Regions from separate parts of the Homo sapiens genome. Here region 1 is linked to region 2. Evidence: promoter capture Hi-C in human tissues and cell types (Jung and others, 2019). All regions are on one chromosome and are shown on one strand. Each heading gives the region's core, a stretch centred on a gene start or on the middle of the fragment in contact. The rest is flanking DNA. Distances are from core to core; before and after follow the strand shown. Region 1 overlaps P3R3URF-PIK3R3 (P3R3URF-PIK3R3 readthrough). Region 2 holds the start of LURAP1 (leucine rich adaptor protein 1).

What was found. The method cuts DNA at HindIII sites, captures the fragments that hold promoters and counts their contacts. A contact is called where the count stands out against the background at its distance.
Region 1: a contact is called between a fragment that was not itself captured here and the fragment with the promoter of LURAP1 in region 2, in 3 of the 25 tissues and cell types used here (IMR-90 fibroblasts, aorta and bladder).

The regions. Positions count from the first base shown.
Region 1 is chr1:46,119,774-46,125,650 of GRCh38, reverse strand. The region is part of intron 1 of P3R3URF-PIK3R3 (P3R3URF-PIK3R3 readthrough); the gene reads left to right. All of the region lies in intron 1 of PIK3R3 (phosphoinositide-3-kinase regulatory subunit 3), which reads left to right. Among named protein-coding and RNA genes, the nearest start is that of PIK3R3, 9.9 kb to the left of the region's middle. The HindIII fragment of the contact is 3,664 bases long and covers 2,552-5,877 here.
Region 2 is chr1:46,200,026-46,206,083 of GRCh38, reverse strand. LURAP1 (leucine rich adaptor protein 1) reads right to left here and starts at 2,750. Exons shown (of 2, transcript NM_001013615.3): 1 at 2,460-2,750. The coding sequence starts at 2,657. It also overlaps a transcript of POMGNT1 not described here. RefSeq lists a silencer at 2,710-2,829. The HindIII fragment of the contact is 7,969 bases long and covers 1-5,930 here.

The DNA.
Region 1 (5,877 bases), core at 3,134-5,633, 82 kb after region 2:
TCGAAGAAGCTTATTTGCTTACCTTGACATACTTGGTATTTTCAACCTGGCACAATTTAGATTAAGTAACATTTTGGTGGAAAACTGGTACACTGGCCCTATGGTTGGGGAAAATATCTGCTGAGAGCTACATAGAATAAATAGGTCATCTGCCACTTCATGATCCTTACTGTTAACAGGTTAAGCAGCCTTATGTGGTTGAATTTTTATTTTTAACCCTGCACATTTGGATTCATCTTATATAAATACTTCTCCTGTGTGTAGTAAGATGTTTCTTTTATGATCTAGTTGTCAGTTTTTAATGATATTGTCGTTTGGGACAAATGCTTATATAATCAAATGATGTAAAAGCCATGCCAGTTTTTTTGTCTTCTTATTGAAAAAGATTAGTCATTGCTTTCATTTAATATATTATAATGTATAGTGTATCCAACTATGTTTCACTAGAAGTATGGTGATTCTCCCATTTGATAATGCTTTTAAAATTTATTCTCATTGTTTTGATGCTGAATGCTTTTTTAATTTTAATTTTAATTTTTAAAATTTTTTTTGAGACAAAGTCTCGCTCTTGTCCCCCAGTCTGGAGTACAGTGGCATGATTTCTGCTCACTGCAATCTCCGACTCCTGTGTTCAGGCAATTCTCCTGCCTCAGCCTCCCGAGTAGCTGGGATTACAGGTGTGTACCACCACACCCAGCTTATTTTTCGTATTTTAAGTAGAGACGGGGTTTCACCATGTTGGCCAGACTGGTCTCAAACTCCTGACCTCAGGCAATCCACCCGCCTCGGCCTCCCAAAGTGCTAGGATTACAGGTGTGAGCCACCACGCCCGGCCTTTTTTTTTTTTTTTTTTTGAAAAAGAGTTTCACCCTTATTGCCCAGGCTGGAGTGCAATGGTGCGAGCTCGGCTCACCGCAACCTCCGCCTCCTGGGTTCCAGCGATTCTCCTGCCTCAGGCTCCCAAGTAGCTGGGATTACAGGCATGTGCCACCACGCCCAGCTGATTTTGTATTTTTAGTAGAGATGGGGTTTCTCCATGTTGGTCAGGCTGGTCTCGAACTCCCAACCTCAGGTGGTCTTCCCGCCTCGGCCTCCCAAAGTGCTGGGATTACAGGTGTGAGCCACTGCACCCAGCTGATCATGAATACTTTTATATTTTTCTTAGAATGTAGAAAAGATAGGACGTGTTTATGATTGCCATATTTAACAAGATAGGTAGAAAAATATAAATGTATCTATGTGATATGATATAATTTTTTATTGGTATTAAAGGGGGAGACAGCCTGAGTGTAGTAGAAAGAACACAGGCTTTGGAAATAGATGACATAGATTACAAAACTAGCTTTGCTTCTTATCCTGCCCAGAGAAAACCTCTCTGTGCATCTGTTTTCTGTAAAATTGAACTCTTACCTTTGTAGAGTTGTGGGGATTAAATGTACCATATCAATATCTAGTATAGTATTTGACATATATTGTGTACCAAATAAGTGTAGCTTGTATTTAGAGCTTCTTATTGAAAACATGTAATTATCCCATGTCTACCTCTTTGGGTACTCTTGCAGTCAAAACCTTTGAGCTATTTTGCCCCATTCTTTTCTTCCTTCCCAGTGTTTACTGGGGCCACATTTTATCCATTTTGGGTTTTGGAATTGTTCTCTAGGGTCTTTTCTAGTTATAACGTTTCATGAGTCTATGGAAATGTCAACCCAAGTCATCTTTTCCTTTTAGTTTCTATTGCCTCTTGTCCAGTTCCTCAATACCTCACCTTAGAAATGATTTGTAATGAAGGTAATAGTTGCTAACATTTGTTGAAGAAATTATTATAGTCCAAGCACTATGTTAAATGCTTTTATATGTATTCTTTTAGCCACACAACAACCTTATAAAATTGGCATTGTTATTATCCCACTCTACAGACAGGAAACTGAGACTTAGGTTTAGTAACTTACCAAGTAGCAGAGCAGGTCCATCTGCCTAACTAAAGCCCAGGTTCTTAACCAGTACCTCTAAACTGGTTGCTCTGTTTCCGATTTCTTCTACCCCTCACTATAAGTTTGTCCCAAATTCTTCAGACAGGTTAGTTCTACTGAAATGTTATTTTCATTGTTTTACTGTTCTTTTCAAAAATAATCAGCTCTTCATTTCTTTTAAGTAGAGATAATATTCTTAAACTTGGTATACATAGTCTTTAGTAATATGGCACCTAACTTACATATTTATAACTTTATTACTAATTTTCTATTCATACTTCTAGTCGAATTCCTTCTAGCCCAATACCCTGATTGCTCATTCCTATCTCAAGCTTTTGCTTAAGCTGCTTCCTATGTAGAATATGCCCGTCTCACCTCCATCTTTAAATCAAGAGCCTGTCTGCGTCCCCTTTCCTTCTTAAAACTTTCTCCAAAAATTCTAGCACTGTACCCTTTTATATGTAGGGCTGTCTCTGTTATTTTGACTTGGAATCATGTGTTATATTATGATAATTATTTCATGAATATAATTCACCTCCCAAACAAGATAAGTTTCTTGAGGTCAGGCTGTTGTATTTCCTTCATATCTTTTTTTCTTTTTTCTTTTTTTGAGACAGGGTCTCATTTTGTCACTGAGGGGTGCAGTGGCTCACTGCAGCCTAAACTCTTGGGCTCAGGTGATCCTCCCACCTTAGCCTCCTGAGTAACTGGGACTACAGTCATGTGTCACCATGCCCAGCTTGTATCTTTTTTCCCTAAACATCCAGTGCCCAAGTATTTTGTTAAATTTTAGGCCCATGGATCCAACTAGCTTCATTTTGTGACTTAAGCTTTAAAATGTTAATATTATTTATTATCAGCATGTGACCTCTAAACTTATGAAGATAATTGGCTGGGCACTTATTGTAACAAAGGGAATAATGAAAAAAAATGCAATACTTAATGTTATTAGCAAGATTTATATAGCTCTGAGTAAAATTGTGTTTGAAACTTTGAACAATTAGAAATGAATAGGCCGGGCGCGGTGGCTCACACCTGTAATCCCAGCACTTTGAGGTGCCGAGGTGGGTGGATCACTTGAGGTCAGGAGTTCGAGACCAGCCTGGCCAACATGGTGAAACCCTATCTCTACTAAAAATAAAAAAATTAGCCAGGCGTGGTGGCGCGCCTGTAGTCCCAGCTAGTCAGGAGGCTGAGGCAGGAGAATCGCTTGATCCCTGGAGGCAGAGGTTGCAGCAAGCTGAGATCGCGCCACTGCACTCCAGCCTGGGTGACAGAGCGAGACTCTGTCTCAAAAAAGAAATGAGTAGTAAGTTTTTCACAGTGTATTAGGTTAGTTTTAAATAACACAGGGCCAAACGGAGAGTTTTAAGTTATCCAGTGTGTTATTATACCACTTAATTTTACTGTGTGTAAGACTTGACTTTTAACAAGTAAAGTGAGCCATCAAGCCTTATTAAAGATCAATTTCCACATTGCTTGCCCATATATGTTGTATGTATTGTTCCTTGTGCATATTTGTAAATTCACATAAAGTAAAAGGGTTATCTTATTGTTTTCTTTTTCTTTTATTTATTTATTTTATTTTATTTTATTTTATTTTTGAGATGGAGTCTCGCTCTGTTGCCCAGGCTGGAGTGCATTGGCATGATCACAAGTTACTGTAGCCTTCCCACCTCAGCCTCCCAAGTATCTGGGGCTACAGGCATGCACCACCACACCTGGCTAATTTTTAAAGTTCATTATTTTAATAAAAGAGGCAGTAGGCTACGTCCAGCCTGCCAAATCATACCATTTTGCATGTCGCATATCAGTATGAAAACTGCCCTATGAGTTGGTATTGATGAGCCAACACAAAGCCAAAGTCAATACCATCTACCCTTATCCATACTTGGACTTCCTGTTTCATGTTCTGTTTGTGGGCCAGATTGCCTATCCTTACCTGAGGATATGTAACAACAAATCCAGAGCATGCAACTGTGTAATCTTAAATATTGTGATAATTTTTATTTATTAACTATTTATTTTTAAATATTTATTATTTTTTAAATAGAGGTAGAGTCTTTCCAGGTTGCCCAAGCTTGTCTCGAACTCCTGGGCTCAAGCAATCCTCCCACCGCAGCCTCCCAAAATGCTGGGATTACAGGTGTGAGCCACCGTGCCCAACCCGTATTTATTTATAAACTTAAGAAAAATTCAATTATGAATCAAAATTAAAAATCTGAATGAAAATTGCTCTGAAAAAGGTCTTGCTGAAAGGAATTGTTGTGCTGGAAATATATTGCTTTAGATTCTGTTCTTACATATGTATTAAGCTTTTTTTTCCATAGAGGATAGAGTGACCTTTTTACAACAGGGTCACTCAATATGGTCTAATTTATGTTGAACTTCTAATAGACATTTATAGAATTAACCACAACCTTTTTTTCTGATATTAGTTCTGGGATGTATTTTATAAAAAGTGTTTAATTCATATGTTTTCAGCTGCAAGCAACAGAACTAATTCAAAATGGCTTTAAAAATAATAAATTTTATCTTCTCATTTAATAGAGTTAGTTGATTTCAGTAGTTCAACAATGTCAGTATAAACCCATATTTTGCTTAGCCATATATTGCTCAATTCTGCCATCCTTGGGACTGGCTTCATCCTCAGGCTAGTAGCAAAATGGTTGCGGTGATTCCAGGCATCATATCATATCCATAAATAACAACTTCCAAAAGAAGAGGAAAAGTATCTCTTCCTGTGCCACTGTTTTTGGATAGAGGAAACTTTCTACAAAAACCTCTAGCAAACTTCTTTCCCATCTTTTTGGCCAGAATTGGGTCATAGGCTAGTTCCTGAACCAGTCACCAGTAAATAACCCTTAGGTTAATCACGTTTCTCAATCTGGAATGGTGTTGGCTTCTACTGAGGTATATGGTTGTATTGGGGAGAGATTCTGTTAAAGAGGAAGAGGGAGAGAATTGATGCTAGGAAAGTAATTTGGAAAACCATAACTCTCTTCAGTGTTATTGTCTTTGTCAATAAACAGTATTAGCAAGTTATTTTTTACTTTTTCAAAGTTAAAATCTAGCTGTGGGAAATGCATTCTCATTTTCTATTTTTTTTGAGACGGAGGCTCCCTCTGTCGCCAGGCTGGAATGCAGTGGCACGATCTCAGCTCATTGCAACCTCCACCTCCCGGGTTCAAGCGATTCTCCTGCCTCAGCCTCCTGAGTAGCTGGGATTACAGGCGCCCACCACCACGCCTGGCTAATTTTGTCTTTAGTAGAGATGTGGTTTCACCATGTTGGTCAGGATGGTCTCGATCTCTTGACCTTGTGATCCACCCACCTTGGCCTCCCAAAGTGCTGGGATTACAGGCGTGAGCCACCGCGCCCAGCCACATTTTCATTTTCTAAGTTGGACTTCATAGGGTCACATAGTATTGAGTTAATATAAGACAGACCTTTTTCTATCTTGTTGGTTGCTTACTAGAAGATGAGGAAGCTAACATCTCTGGTTTACAGTTAACTAATTTGAGGAATATAGGCATTGGAATAGTGTTAGTGTAGCAAGTAAATGAGTGTAAGAGAACATTTTGCAAAACTATACACTTAAAATTCTAAAGTTCAGTAAATTAAGTAAACTTGGGACCTGTGGAATGATTTATGATTTGAAAGCTAGCCTGAAAAATTAGGAGCCGTCCAGACTGGGCAACATGAAGAAACCTCGTCTTTACAAAAAATACAAAAATTAGCTGTGCATGGTGGTGCATTCTTATAGTCCCAGCTACTTGGGAGGCTGAGGTGGGAGGATCACTTGAGCCCTGGAAGTCGAGGCTGCGCTGAGCTGTGATTATACCACTGTACTCCAGCCTGGGTGACAGAGCGAGACCCTGTCTCAAAAAAAAAAAAAAAAAAAAAA
Region 2 (6,058 bases), core at 1,501-4,000:
GTTGCCACTGTTTCCCATTCCCACATATCCCAGTCTGGCTTGTTCACTCAACCTTTGAATGGAGGGTAGAGGAAGAAAGCAGGAGGGACGAGGCCTAGAGGCAGGACTGACCTTGGCCTCAAGGGTAGGCCTTCCCCCTTTGTGCAAGGAGAGCTGGGAGAGGAACAATTGAAGGACAGTCCTTAGAGGGCTTGAACCAGTCCTGCCTTCAGTAGCCCGAAGGCAAATCCCTTGCCCCACCCCTTGTCCTTCCTGGGTGCAACCCAGTAGGCAGGGCAGAGCACAAGAAGAGATTAATATTAATAACATCCTGGCCTGAGGAAGGAGAAAAAATAGGATGGGGATCTCTCCTCATTCTGGCCCCAGAAGGCTCCCTCCCTTGTGCCCTTTCTCGGGCAGCCTCAGGCCCCAGGCAAGCTGGGTCAAGAATACAGAGAGACAAAATCAAAAGTTAAATGCAGCCCCTTAAAGTTTACAGATAGTTTCCACCAAGGCAGAGAAGAGAGCCAGAGACTGGGCGTGGCTCTTCCACTGACTCCCTATGTGAGTTCAGAATCTGCAAGCACGTTTTATCTGTAAGATGGGAGAAATGATGACCAGTTTTCTCATTTCAATGACATAAAATGTTCAGACTATCTGGCACAAAGCAGGTCTCAAAGTAAAGATGCAAAGTGCAGTCAGATGATCTGGGTTCAAATCATGGCCCTGCTTTTTGCGTGATGTTGGGCAGTTATTAAACTCCCTGTGCCTCTGTTTTCTTTTCTTTTCTCCTCCCTCCCTCCCTTCCTCCCTTCCTCCCCTTCTTCCCCTTCTTTTTTTGAGACAGGGTCTAGCTCTGAGCTCTGTCACCCAGGCTGGAGTGCAGTGGTGCGATTTCAGCTCACTGCAACCTCCTCTTCCTGGGCTCAAGTGATCCTCCTGCCTCTGCCTCCAGAGTAGCTAGGACTACAGGCACACACCACAACACCCATCTAATTTTTGTATTTTTTGTAGAGACAGGGTCTTGCTTTGTTGCCCAGGCTGGTCTCAAACTCCTGGGCTCAAGCGATCTGCCTGCCTCGGCCTCCCAAAGTGCTGGGATTACAGGCGTGAGCCACCATGCCCACCCTGTGCCTCAGTTTCTCCATCTATAAAATATCACTTAACAGGGTTACTGTGGAGATGAAGAGAGCATCATGTAAAGTGCTCAGCAAGCTGCCTGGCACATGCACTGGGTGAAAGTTTTCAAAGCAAGTAGACAGTCTAGATAGGCTCTTACTAGGCCTTGAGCTAAAGTTTGTACAGTGAGGCAAAGGCAAGCCCCCGCTTAGGTGGGTACAGTCACAGCCTTGCTCTGGAGAATTGGGCACTCACCTCCAACCTTCAAGGCCAAGTGCACACTTGGCATTCAAGTCCTTCTCCCAGGGGGCCTTTCCTGACTGCTCCACCCACCAGACTCTCTTCCCAGCCTCTCAGCTCAGGCGTCGGAGCCCTGGCTGGTCTCAGAGCCCCCATGATTTCCTTCCCCTTCTCCTTCACAGACCAGCTTGGCACAGGCTGGGCACACAGGAAGACTTTAGCTGACGTACTCACTGTGGGCTCCTGGTTGTGAGCCAGGAAGCCGATGGCAATTCCTCAGTTCCCCAGAACTGGCTGCAAAGTAGTGGCAGGTGTAAATCACCCACTTCACCGGAATCAGGGCCCTGGGGAACCTGCCAGGGCCTCGGCTGCCCTTTTGGCTCTGAATCTAGACCAGCAGCAATAGAGAAAGGGGAGGGTTGCTGTTTCCTCTTCTCCCCAAGAATGTACAGATGAGATCCAAATATCCAGTTTACCTGGAAGACTGGCTGGGAGGAGACTGAGTCTGAGGCGAGGGAATCAGCACCAGTGGTGCTGCTACTCTCTGTCCCTGCTATGGGTCTAGGAACTTTCCATTATTTTAAGTAGGGCTGGGGGATGTAGAGGAAACGGAGAAGGTTTTCAGTGCCCCTGGTCCAGGTAGTTTTCAGCAGATAGGCCCCTTTACCCACTTCTTTTCTGTGCGGAACACTGCGGCCTCACAGGAACTTAAACCCTTTCCCGGTTAGCAGAAGGAGAAAAAACCGGTTGCCTTACAACGGGGACTGGCGGGGAATAGGTGGCCCATACAGGCGGGGGGAATTTGTGCTGCGTTGGGTTCTCAGTACTTCCCAGTCCTCATCTCTCTCCTCCCAATTATTTGGCAGGAATAACTTCCAAAACCCACTGCTCCCAACCCAAGTCCTCAGGACCATCAACACCCCACTCACTCTTGGGGGACAAGTAATGGACGTCACTCCATCTCCACCCCAGCGTTTACGGATTGATCTGGGAGGGATTCTGAGCAGTTAGGTGGAGAGTTTTAACTACCTCCTCTCCAGCTTAACTCTGGGAGCATGAGTTCGTCCCTCCCGGCCCTACACTAGGGACTCGTCCCCTTGGCCCATGGATTCAGCACTCACCAGCTCCATCTTCAGCGCCATGATCTTGTCCCCCAAGTCGTGGCCGGTGCTAGACGCCCCTGGGAGCAGCAGGGCGCCAGAGGTTCCCAGCTCACACTCGCCTCGCAGCCCGCGGAGCAGCCCTTCAGGGGTCTTCCTGCCCACCTTACCCTCCACATCCCGCAGGTCAGGCGTCTGGGACTCCACGGTCCCCTCCATGCGGGCCCAAGCCTGAAAAGGGCTGGGCGACCGGACGCCGGGGACCGGCTCCCGGGGGTCCTCCCTTCGCCGCTGCTAAAGCGGAGCAAAACCGGTGGGTCCCCGCCCGCGCGGCGCGGGGGCGGGAGGAGGGCGCCGTAACACTCAGAAAAGCCGCGCAGCACCGTCTGTGGATGTATTCGAGTGCTGCGCACACAACCTCTGGCCCTGGATTGCGTGGGGCTGGGCGATTCTGGAGTTGGACCTGAAAGAGCACTCGGAGACCTCAGCGCCTTCGCCCCACCCTGGCACTGAATCCAGCCAGGCACACAGCAGGCGCCCAATACATGTTTGCAGAATGAAGTCTAAGCAGCTTCAGTCAGAGATGTGGGAGTTTAAGGAACAGCGGTAACAGAGAGCTGCAGAGGGCTTGGAAGTCTTCCTGGAGCAGAGGAATTGGGTATAAAACGATGACTGGATTTTAGCTAGACACACACACACACACACACACACACACACACACACACCACCCCCCCCCCCCAGGGGCTAGAATTCAGGCTAACGGAGTAGAAAAGGGCAACCAGTACTGAAGCTGAAGAGGTCCACGTTGGGCTTACAAGCAAGATGCTCCTTAAGCTTGACTGTGCGTATGAATTATCTGCGGATCTTGTTAAAATGTAGGTTCTGATTTTGTAAATCTGGGGTGGGGCTTGAGATCCTGCATTTTTTTTTTTTTTTTTTTTTTTTTTTTGAGACAGAGTCTCGCTCTGTCGCCCAGGATGTAGCGTGGTGGCGCGATCTTGGCTCACTACAAACCTCTGCCTCCCTGGGTTCAAGCAATTCTCCTGCCTCTGCCTCCTGAGTAGCTGGGATTACAGGCATGCGCCACCATGCCCAGCTAATATTTTTGTATTTTTAGTAGAGACAGGGTTTCACCATGTTGGCCAGGCTGGTCTTGAACTCCTGACTTCAAGTGATCCGCCTGCCTTGGCCTCCCAAAGTGCTGGGATTACAGGTGTGAGCCACTGCGCCCAGCCAAGATCCTGCATTTCTAATAAGCTCCCAGGTGATGGCCATGCTGCTGGTCCACACTTCAAGTAATAAGGGACCACACTTTGAGTAACAAGGTTACAGAAAATGGTTCTGAGATGTTTGGGTTTTATTTAACAGGTAATGAACAGCCATGAAAACTCTGGTTTGTTTAGGCTTTTAATTCAAGTAATTCCAGCCCATGGTTGCAGAAGGATTTACAATGAGAAGATAGTTACCCCTACCCTACCCTTTCACACCTCTAGGCCCACTCCCAATTGGCAAAAAATAACTTTTAGTTTTTTTTTTTCTTTTGGTGTTCATACCCATAACGTTATTGTTTAGAGTTAACTAAAAGTGGTTGCCAATTGGGAGTGGGCCTAGAGGTGTGAAAGGGTAGGGTAGGAGTAACTATCCTCTTATTGTAAATCCTACCACTATTTTTTCTTTTTTAGAGACAGGGTCTTCCTACATTGCCCAGGCTGGACTCAAACTCCTGGGCTCAAGCAATCCTCCTGCCTCCCAAGCAGCTGTGACTACAGGAGTATGCCACCATGCCCAGCCACACTACTTCTCAATTTTAAACATTCATCTGCTGTTTATTGTCCTATTCAGATAAATATGGATATATGGGTTTAACTCACACTCTGTAGTTCCTTTCCCCCATTGGCAATATATATTTCTTTTCTTTTCTTTCTTTTTTCTTTTTTTTTTTTTTTTTGAGATGGAGTCTCACTCTGTCGCCCAGGCTGGAGTGCAGTGGCACGATCTTGACTCACTGCAACCTGCCCTCCTGGGTTCAAGCGATTCTCCTGCCTCAGCCTCCTGAGTAGCTGGGATTACAGGCACGTGCCACCATGCCCGACTAATTTTTGTATTTTTAGTAGAGACGGGGGTTTCACCATGTTGGTCAGGCTGGTCTCGAACTCTTGACCTCGTGATCTGCCTGCCTCAGCCTCCCAAAGTGCTGGGATTACAGGTGTGAGCCACTGCGCCCGGCCTGGCACTACATATTTCTATCACTCTTTTTAGTTCATCTAAGGTTACCTTTGTAATTAACTTTTTTTAAAATTTAGATAGAGTCTCGCTATGTTGCCCAGGCTGGTCTCGAACTCCTGGCCTCAAGCAATCCTCCCACCTTAGCCTCCCAAAGTGCTGGGATTACAGGCATGAGCCACCATGCCTGGCCTACCTTTATAATTTTAAGTAACATCATTTTCCTTGGTACTTTTTGATCCATGGAAGGGTTTTAAGTTAGAGATAGACAAAACATTTGTCTTTTTTTTTTGAGACAGAGTCCGGCTCTGTTGCCCAGGCTGGAGTGCAGTGGCACCATCTTGGCTCATTGCAACTTCTGCCTCCCAGGTTCAAGCCATTCTCCTGCCTCAGCCTCCTGAGTAACTGGAATTACAGGCACCTGCCACAACACCCAGCTAATTCTTGTATTTTTAGTAGAGACGGGGTTTCACCATGTTGGCCAGGCGGATCCATCCGCCTCAGGTGATCCACCCGCCTTGGCCTCCCAAAGTGCCGGGATTACAGGCATGAGCCACCGAACCCGGCAACATTTGCCTTAAAGAAAATCACTCTGGATTTTGCAAGGAGAAAAGGATAGGAGGAGTAAAAATCTAGAGTCAAGGAGACTGGCTGGAAAGCAAGAAACTGAAATGGCCTGCACTGGGGCTGATTGTGAGGTCAAAGAAGAATTAGACTAGAATGGAAGGCTCTTTAGGAGGTAAGACTGACAGGACTAGGTGACTGGTTACATTCATTTATAGTGGCATTCAATAAAAATTTGTTAAAAAATACAAATGAATGATTTCAACAAATGTTACGGAGAGCTTACTATGTGCCAGCCTTTGTGTGTGGTGTAGAGAATACAATGGTGAGCAAGACATACCTGGACTGGTCACTGGAGACAGACAAGGAGTCAAGGGTGACTCCCAGCTGTTTGGCCTGGTGCAGTTCACTGAGGAGGGGAACCCACAGGAAATCTAGGAGTGAAAGGAAATGATTCCAGAAGTTGTGCTGTTGCGTTAGAGGGGCCTGTGAAGATGTCCTGCTGGACATCAGGCAGCCTGGAGCTCAGGAAAGAGGTTAGAACTGCCAATGTCAGTTTGGGCATCTAGATTGGTAACAGAGGTCATGAGAGAATGAGATCATCCATGAAGAGTCAGTTTGAGGAGAAAAGAGGGTCAGGAAGGAACCCTGAGGGACATCTTTTAATTATTTATTTTTATTTTTTTATTTTTTGAGACGGAGTCTTGCTCTGTCACTCAGGCTGGAGTGCAGTGGTGCAATCTCAACTGCAACTTCTGTCTCCCAGGTTCAAGCGATTCTCCTGCTTCAGCCTCCTGAGTAGCTACGATTATAGGCGCCTGTCACCACGCCCA